2 separate regions of the Homo sapiens genome follow, and region 2 is linked to region 1. The links are contacts of gene promoters, found by promoter capture Hi-C in blood cells and fetal thymus (Javierre and others, 2016). All regions are on one chromosome and are shown on one strand. Each heading gives the region's core, a stretch centred on a gene start or on the middle of the fragment in contact. The rest is flanking DNA. Distances are from core to core; before and after follow the strand shown. Region 1 holds the start of TMEM9B (TMEM9 domain family member B). Region 2 overlaps ZNF143 (zinc finger protein 143).

Region 1 (4,631 bases), core at 299-2,798:
CTACAAAGCCTTGATAATTCATCAAAGTGACAGCACCTTCACTGGGCAGTCTGGTGAGAGGACATCTAGCCCTGCCACCCTGGTTCCTGTTGGGAACAGTATCAGATACGTTGTGTTAGATTCACATGAATCTAAGAATCACATGGGCGAAAAATATTGAGAGCATTCTGTTAAAACATTTCCACAAATTGGGAAAAGACCATCTTTAAAAATCTGTTGGGGCCGGGCGCGGTGGCTCACGCCTATAATCCCAGCAATTTGGGAGGCCGAGGCGGGCGGATCACAAGGTCAGGAGATCGAGACCATCCTGGCTAACACAGTGAGACCCTGTCTGTACTAAAAATACAAAAAAAAAAAAAGAAAAAGAAAAAGAAAAAAAAAATTAGCCGGGCGGCGTGGTGGCGGGCGCCTGTAGTCCCACCTACTAGGGAGGCTGAGGCAGGAGAATGGCGTCAACCCGGGAGGCGGAGGTTGCAGTGAGCCGAGATCGCGCCACTGCACTCCAGCCCGGGGGACAGAACGAGACTCCGTCTCAAAAAAAACAAAAAAATCTGTTTACAGAGGTAAAAACACGGGTATTACATGGAGCATAATTTGAAATCCATTCCCTCATATTCAGCCAAGAACTACAGGCCCAGAGAAGGGAAGTGATTTGCCAAAGGTCATTCAACAAATCCCTAGGGGCTGTGATGATCCGTGTCCTTGCCATTACCTCCCTTGTCTCCACTAACAAAAATATTTCAATGGGAGAATGTGCCGATCTAAGGCACTCCTAAAGTACTTGCTGAGAATGACAGCCCTGGGGAGACAGGTCGGCAGCCCTGAACAGGCACTGCCTTACCCGGGCGTAGTGCCCCAATTCGCCACCTCTTGGAGTCCTAGGCGGAGGATACTACTGGGGCAGTTGTTTCGCCAATTCCACATCTCCCGGAGCCTGGCCTGGCCCAGCCCAGCCCCGTCGCTGTGACCCACTTCCTAGCTGCAGGCTGGACCAAGGGGAGGCACATGGGGAGCTCCACAGGGAGGCCACGCCCACGAGGGCAGCTCACAGAATTAGAAAGCCGACGGGGTGCTGTGGTCAGGAGGCGCGTGGGCGGCAGGTTAGTACTTAAGGTGCAGAGACCACCCCCAACCCTTTGACTGGCGGTGGGCATCCCGGAAAGGCATGGCTCGGCCAATTCCAGCCCCGTTTCCACGCTCAGCACCCGCCCTGCCTGTGCGCGAACGGCTCCGGCCCGCACGGGTCGCCAGAGGCGACTGTGTGACACTCGGAGTTTGCTGGGGTCTCCGTGGGCGGGAGGACTTTCCAGCGCAATGGCGACTCCCTAAGCCCCGCAGCTTCTGCGCCCGGGAAAGATATCCAAGAGATGCAAAGCTCTACTGGGCCCAGGCTGCCACCCCAGAGGCCCCCTTCCGTCCCGGGGCCGGGGCTAGGCCAAGGCGGGCACCAGGACTGCCCAGCCTCCCGGCCCTTCGCACTGGTAACCGGTTCCGGGGCGGATGCTTTTTGCATCTGACCCGGCGCGCCCGGTGACGCCTTCGCGTCCAGACGGAAGTGCGGGCGGAGGATCCCCAGCCGGGTCCCAAGCCTGTGCCTGAGCCTGAGCCTGAGCCTGAGCCCGAGCCGGGAGCCGGTCGCGGGGGCTCCGGGCTGTGGGACCGCTGGGCCCCCAGCGATGGCGACCCTGTGGGGAGGCCTTCTTCGGCTTGGCTCCTTGCTCAGCCTGTCGTGCCTGGCGCTTTCCGTGCTGCTGCTGGCGCAGCTGTCAGACGCCGCCAAGGTGAGTCCCGCCCAGCCTCGCTCCTGACGGAAGCTCCTCCCCTACCACCGGCCTTGCGGAAACTGGGTCTGCCAACCTGCTCCTTGGCCCATTCCTGACAGCCATACGCCTGGCCTCACAGCTCCGGCAGACCCCCGCCGCCACCAGCCCCGCCCCTCCCGACTGCCCGGCGGCACTCTCGCCCTCAGCCCCGACAGCCTGGCAGGCAGCGCCCCACGGTCGTCCCCAGCCCCGACAGTGCCCACAGTCCGGACAGCAGCCCCCCACCGCCTTAACATTTCCCTTCCCAGCCCCGGCTGCACGCATCTTACACTTGACAACCTTTTCACCTCCGAGAGCCTTTAACTTTCCACCCTAAGCTCTTGACAGCCCACCTGCGCCCTCCGCCAGCCTCACAGGCCCCGCATGCCCCAAGCCAGAATGATAGGAAGCCCCCATCTGACAGAGCCTTCCCTGTCAAGGGCCGACTCAGCTCAGCTCACCCCTGAACACTTCCCTTCCTGTGGTGGGAACTTGCCCCTCCTGGCCTACTTCCCTCCCAATAGGGCCTACGGAGCATCTCTCACCTGCTTCATATTCTCACCTAACTCCCTCCACGAGTCCCTTGGTGCCTTTCTTGCTTTCTCTCTTCCTGATAATTTAGTGGGTAAGGGAAGAACCAAACTGCAAGAGAGGTGAGGTTGTGGCCTCCCTGGTTCGATTTCTTGACCTTCTAGTTCCCTCATACTGTTCTCTGGTGCCCCAGCTCTCCAGACCTGCCCTAGCTCCATGCATACCTGTGCTTCCTCTTTGATGAGCTAGCTCATCATTGGGGGAGAACAGAAGGGATTCACATTAGTATGATGGGAAAACAGAATGACATTGCGTTTTTAAAAATAAGAGCTTTAATTTATAATATCTTTAAATGTAGGAGTGGGGAAAGGTTACAGGCAGGCAAATGTTTTTGATTCAGAGATTCTTTTTGAAACCATCTCTACCTCCTACCAGAAACAGGGACAGCAGCACGTCTCCTGACTTTGAAAACATTGCTGGCACCCTCTGCATATCTTGCCTCATAACTTTATGTATTGTGATCATGTATTTATTTTTCAGTCTCCTTTACTAGGGTGTGTCCTGGTTATGGGCAGAAACCATGTCTTATGCTTATCTGAATCCACCTTATTGAGCACAAGATCTAACACAGAGCAAATGCTCACTAAGTGGTTGCTGAATACGTTTGTGAATTGTCAATAGCTCTGCCAGACATATCACTGTATATAGGAGGAGTGGGCAAGGTCCTCTGGGGAATGATAAGCCACTTCCTTCTCAAACAGATTCCCCTTTGCTGAGGAAGCATCTCTTCTTTTCTCTATCCAGATACTTAGTCACCTGTTCCTCCACCTCTTGAAACTTGTTTTGTTGGTAGTTGTTCTGTCTGTCAACCAGGAATTAGAAGCAAAGTTTCCTGGGAAGAGTATACTAAACTGATCTCAGAGTCAGGCTACTTCCTGTGTGTACTTCCTTTCTAGTTGTAGGTGGGTGCCTCTAACATTTCATCCCTTCTACGGGACTCTGGCCCAACCCGTTTTATCAATGTCAGTGCCTTCTACCAGAGGGTGAAAGGATGATAGGTAGAATTGTGACCTTTTTTGTGAATAATTTTTAGTTTCTTTCCCATCCTTTAGTAATGAATATTCTTATTTACAGGCACAACTATCTGCTTACCATGTGTCTTTCTAGTGGCAGATAGATGGTAATAACATTAACATAATTTGATTGTCATGTGACCCATAAATATGGTTAATAAGTCTTAGATCATGTATTAGGTATTATTTCAAAATAACTACATGTAATATATAATGATTCATTGGCATTACCATAAAGGACTGTGGCTTTTAAAAACTGTGTCTGTTAAAGTTTTAAATGAATGATTTTAGAATACTTGGTATTCTAAAGAGGATGCTTGGCAAAATGTATATGGTACAGTTTTTAAAAATATTGATGATAAACTGTCAACGCACTATACTGTTTCCATTTTGGTTACAGAATTTCGAGGATGTCAGATGTAAATGTATCTGCCCTCCCTATAAAGAAAATTCTGGGCATATTTATAATAAGAACATATCTCAGAAAGATTGGTAAGTATCTGGATTACTGAATTACCTGTCACATTTGTTTCTGTGGTTGTCAGTGTTATCCCAGAATGTTCATCAAATGCATAGTTTTCTTTTTAAGTATTTCATTTGAAGCAAAAATGTGAAATTCTACTTCCATTTGAAAAAGTGAGAGTGAGGCCCTACGTGCATGATGCCTGCAGGCCTAAAGGTATACAGCCAAAACACTAAGACCCATGTAGGCAGAGTTTCATGGGAGCATATGACTGGGTTTGTGGCACCTAAACTACCCATAGCTATCTTGCTGTACTCCCTCAAGTTTTGGTGAGGGACCTTTCTCCCTCTTGCTTTTCAGTGGAAGGTTAGCAAGCCTCGTTTGTCTGGGTTATAATTTTTACAACTTGTAGGTTTTGATGATGTATTGCCAAGTATGGGAAGCTATGTTTAAAAGTGTCAGAAGGCTCAAGAAGAAGTGGAAATGAGCTATGTAGTCAGAGTTTCCCATTTGGTGTAAATGAAGAAGTTACAGTTGTGCCAAGATATTGACCTGTTCAGTCCTTGGGCAGTCAGGCAGGCCTGTGATGACTGGGGGATCCTGACTGACTAGCCACCAGCAGCCTTCTCTGCTTATCCCAGCAGACCTGACAAATAGCTTTTTCTACGTGTGCCATGAAGCAGTTGGGATGCAGTTGTATTACAGCAGGATGAATGTGTTCCTTCCCATAGAATTGTGATGTTTTATGGTTTGTAACCACGG
Region 2 (5,069 bases), core at 699-3,198, 540 kb before region 1:
CAGAGCGAGACGCTGTCTCAAAAAAAAAAAAAAAAAAAGAAAAAAGAAAAAAATGTCTTTTAATTTTGAATTAACACAAGTTTACTCTTAATACCAGTAATAAAACAATATATTAAAATTTTTCTTATAAAACTAATGCATATCCTGCCTTACGCTCACATTTGCCTTTCCATTCTCACCCACCAAAAATACATCCACAAAATGGAGCATTAAAATTAAAAGCTTCTATACTGCAAATATCATTAAGAGAATTAAAAAACCAGCCACAGAATGGAAGAAAATATCTGTAACTAATATATCTAATAAGAGACTTGGATTCAAGTCTCTCGAATTAAAGTTATACAACTCAGTAATAAAGACACAACCCAATTTTAAAAACGGGCAAAGGATTTGAATAGACATTTCTCCAAAGAAGATATACACATGGCTAATAAATACATAAAAAGATGCTTTGGCCAGGTGTGGTGGCTCAAACCTGTAATCCCAGCAGTTTGGGAGGCTGAGGTGGGAGGATCACAAGGTCAGGAGTTTGAGACTAGCCTGGCCAACATGGTGAAAACCTATCTCTATTAAAAATACAAAAATTAGCTGGGTGTGGTGGCAGGTGTCTGTAATCCCAGCTACTTGTGGGGGCTGAGGCAGAAGAATTGCTTGAACGTGGGAGGTGGAGGGTGCAGCAGGCCAAGATTGCGCCACTGCACTCCAGCCTGAGTGACACAGCAAGACTCTGTCTCAAAAAAAAAAAAAAAAAAAAAAAAAAGGCAAGGCGTGGTGGCTCATGCCTGTGATCCCACCACTTTGGGAGGCCAAGGCAGGTGAATCACCTGAGGTCAGAAGTTTGAGACCGGCCTGGCCAACATGGTGAAACCCTGTCTCTACTAAAAATACAAAAATTAGCTGGGTGTGGTGGCACACACCTGTAGTCCCAGCTACTCAGGAGGCTGAAACAGGATCAATCAATCAATCGCTTGAACCCGGCAGGCGGAGGCTGCAGTGAGCTGAGATCACACCACTACACTCCAGCCTGGGCGAGACAGAGCGTGACTCCGTCTCAAAAAAAAAAAAAAAAGCTTCACATCATTAGCCATCAGAAAAATGCAAATCAAAAGTCGGAATGAGATACCAATTCACACCTACTAAGATGGCTATAATAAAAAAAGACAGATAATAACAACTGTTAGCTGGGATAATAACAACTGTTAGCTGGGATGTGGAGAAACTGGAACCCTCATCCATTGCTGATGAGACTGTAAAATGGTGCAGCCACTTGGGAGAACAGTTTGGAAGTTCCTAAAATGTTAAGCATGGAGTTACCATATGACCCAGCAAGTCCACTCCTAAGTACACATCCAAGAGAAATGAAAACATGTCCACATAAAAACTTGTACATGAATGCTCATTGCATATAAGGAATACATATGACATATGTAATCTATTATTATTCTTAATAGCCAGAAGTGAAAACAACTGGTGAATAAACAAAATGTAGTACATCCATATAATGAAATACTATTCAGTTACTGAAAAAAGAAAGAATTTAAAAGTTGCTACAACATGGTTGAACTTCAAAAACATTATGCAGGCTAGGAGCGGTGGCTCATGTCTGTAATCCCAGCACTTTGGGAGGTCGAGGCAGGTGGATCACGAGGTCAGGAGATCGAGACCGTCCTGGCTAACACAGTGAAACCCCGTCTCTACTAAAACATACAAAAAATTAGCCAGGCATGGTGGCAGGCGCCTATAGTCCCAGCTACTTGGGAGGCTGAGGCAGGAGAATGGTGTGAACCCAGGAGGCGGAGCTTGCAGTGAGCCGAGATTGCGCCACTGCACTCCATTATGCAAAGAGAACGAAGTCAGACAAAAACCCCCCACATACTGCATGATTTCATTTATATGAAAATATCCAGAATGGGCAAACCCATAGAAGAGAAAGTAGATTCGTGATTGCTTACACCTGGGGGGCGGGGTGGGGAAAGGACTGCTTCTGAGTATGGAATTTCTTTTAGGGGAAATGAAAATATTCTAAAATTGAATTGTGGTGATGGTTGCACAACCTTGTGAATATACTAAAAAACACTGAAACACATACTTTTTTTTTTTTTTTGAGATGGAGTCTCGCTCTTGCTCAGGCTGGAGTGCAGTGGTGCGATCTCAACTCACTGCAAGCTCTGCCTCCCGGGTTCATGCTGTTCTCCTGCCTCAGCCTCCGGAGTAGCTGGGACTATAGGCACCCGCCACCATGCCCGGCTAATTTTTTGTGTTTTTAGTAGACATGGGGTTTCACCATGTTAGCCAAGGATGGTCTCGATATCCTGACCTCGTGATCCGCTCACTTCGGCCTCCCAAAGTGCTGGGATTACAGGCGTGAGCCACCGCGCCCGGCCCATACACTTTAAATAGATGAATTGTATAGTATGTGAATTATATTTCAATAAAGCAGTTTCCCAAAAAAAAAAAAAAAAAAAAAAAAGAATATGGCCAGGCGCGGTGGCTCACACCTGGATTCCCAGCACTTTGAGAGGCCGAGGCGGGCAGATCACCTGAGGTTGGGAGTTTCAGACTAGCCTGACCAACATGGAGAAACCCCGTCTCTACTAAAAATACAAAATTACCCGGGCATGGTGGCACATGCCTGTAATCCCAGTTACTAGGGAGGCTGAGGTGGGAGAATCGCTTAAACCTGGGAGGCGGAGGTTGCAGTGAGCCGAGATCGCGCCATTGCACTCCAGCCTGGGCAACAACAGCGAAACTCCATCCCAAAAAAAAAAAAAAAAAAAAAAAAAAAAGAATATATCCATAGACCACCCCGCCCCCTCACAAGCTTCACAAAGTCCAGTTTAAGAAGTACCTTAACTTTGACAGCACAACACACAAGGCCTCTGGCTACCTCTCAGAACTCACCTTGTACAAATCTTCTACATGTACTTAATGCTCCTGTCATATGGAACCACTGAGTATCATGCTTTTTCATACCTTTGTGCCTTTCCCCATGACATTTCCCCTGCCAGGAATACCCTTCTCTCTTATGTGGCAAACTTCAGGATTGAGTCTGTATGCCAAATATCTCCCAGAAACCCCTCCCAAAATGCTTCTCCCATTCCTGCAGAAGTGACTGCTCCCCTCTCTGCTCCCACAGCATCTTGTCCATATAATGGGAGACACTGCAGCAACTGTATGTCTACTATCTCTTCCCAAGTAGCCTGCCCTTGACAATGTCTTATCTCTCTATGTTTGATGCCTGGCAGGAGATACTCAATAACTGTTTGTTGAATAAATGAATGTATGACTGTTAAGGTGAAACTTTTTCAAGTTGCTTAATCTCTTTCCACCATGCCAAGTGATAGAAAGGAGGGAAGAGATTAGTTGGAAATGGTTTCTGGAAAAGGCAGGAGTTAAACTGAGCCTTGAAAGATAAAAGACCAAAAGATCAGAGATTGTTACCTGTGTGTATCCTCACATGGTTTTTATAATTTGTTGCACTGGCAAATGCCCTCCCACATCCTGGCTCTGTGCAGTAATAAGGTCTTTCTCCTGTGTGTGTCCTAACGTGCACTTTTCTGATATTTGATGTTGTAAAGGACCGACCGCAGCCTTCGAAGGGACACTTAAAGGGCCTTTCTCCTGCAAATATAAAGGGTAATACATTAAATGGTGCAAAAATATATAGAGGATTAAAATGTCTTATCCTTCAATCCTGCCTAGGATTATGCTCAAGACTCTAGCCTTCTTGTGCTGAGCTTCCCTTTCAGGCATTTTTTTGGGGGGGTTGGGGAAACAGCATCTTCCACTCCAAACTTAAATCTACATAAGAAACTGGGAATGGTATTCAAAACTAATCACTGATTACATAGCTCTCCAAGATGGAATCATCCAGGTAGGCAAAAAATGAGCTGAGAAAAGCAGAGAGAAAAACATAAGAAATATAAAAGAAAAGTACAGTCAGGAATATGAATTAAATTAGAACAAACCCAGAATTCCCTAAAAGCTTGTATCCTACTTGATTTATTCTACAATATCTTGCAGGAAAATAATTTTTGCTCTTTAAAAATATGGTGTTTTGACCAGCCTGGCCAACATGGTGAAACCCTTTCTCTATTAAAAATACAAAAAATTAGCTGGGCATGGTGCCGGGCGCCTGTAATCCCAGCTACTCGAGAGGCTGAGGCGGGAGAATCGCTTGAACTCAAGAGGCGGAGGTTGCAGTGAGCCGAGATTACACCGTTGCACTCCAGCCTCGGCGACAGAGCGAGACTCCATCTCAAGAGAAAAAAAAATGGTGTTTTAACTAATGTTCAACAAGATAATGCCTAATATTAACTGTGTCAGGAAATAGTAGGTGTTCAATACATACTTGTGTTACTGAACCAAAAAAAAAAAAAAGAAAATCTAGTGCCTAGCACATATGTCAAAAATACCTGCTGGACATACTACTACTACCCTCATAATCTAAGCTTATAAAAAGTCTGGCCAGGCACAGCAGCACATGCCTGTAATCCCAGCACTTTGAGAGGCTAAGGCAGGCGGATCACTTGAGCTCAGGAGTTCAAGACCAGCCTGGGCAACATGGCGAAACCCCGTCTCTACAAAAAAAATTCAAAAAATTAGCTGGGTGTAGTGGTGCACAGTGGTAAGTCCCAGCTACTCGGGAGGGTGAGATGGGGGGATCACATGAGCACAAGAAGTCAAGGCTGTAGTGAGCTGTGACTGTGCCACTGCACACCAGCCTGGGCACTGAAGTGAGACACTGTCTCAAAAACAAAAAAATCTGCTTTACCAATTATGTTTCTTTCCTTCATATTTGCTTTATACAATCTTGGAATACGAAAGGCCTTTAAACTGTCAAGCAAGAAGTAGCCTTTGCTTTTGATTCTCATGTACCCTTTTCTAGGATGAGCTCAAATTAGGCAAACAACTTCTGGGGAAGGGGAAAAAATCTCTCTTTATATAGACAGATACAGATATTTATCTATATATAGTAAGTTTGTTAAATTTTTTAAGAGATGAGTCTCACTATGTTGCTCAGGCTGGAATGCAGTGGCTCTTCACAGGCACGATGGTTGCACACTGCA

The links. The method cuts DNA at HindIII sites, captures the fragments that hold promoters and counts their contacts. A CHiCAGO score of 5 or more calls a contact.
Region 2: a fragment that was not itself captured here is called in contact with the fragment with the promoter of TMEM9B in region 1 in 1 of 17 cell types (total CD8 T cells); the score reaches 5.0 in total CD8 T cells.

What each region holds. Positions count from the first base shown.
Region 1 is chr11:8,961,359-8,965,989 of GRCh38, reverse strand. TMEM9B (TMEM9 domain family member B) reads left to right here and starts at 1,548. Exons shown (of 5, transcript NM_020644.3): 1 at 1,548-1,781; 2 at 3,807-3,898. The coding sequence starts at 1,677. It overlaps TMEM9B-AS1 (TMEM9B antisense RNA 1), which reads right to left and starts at 1,315. Exons shown (of 5, transcript NR_073431.1): 1 at 842-1,315; 2 at 1-86. RefSeq lists silencers at 1,355-1,854, 1,895-2,084. The HindIII fragment of the contact is 10,613 bases long and covers 1-4,631 here.
Region 2 is chr11:9,499,643-9,504,711 of GRCh38, reverse strand. It overlaps ZNF143 (zinc finger protein 143), which reads right to left. Exons shown (of 16, transcript NM_003442.6): 11 at 3,442-3,621. Among named protein-coding and RNA genes, the nearest start is that of ZNF143, 41 kb to the right of the region's middle. The HindIII fragment of the contact is 1,751 bases long and covers 1,073-2,823 here.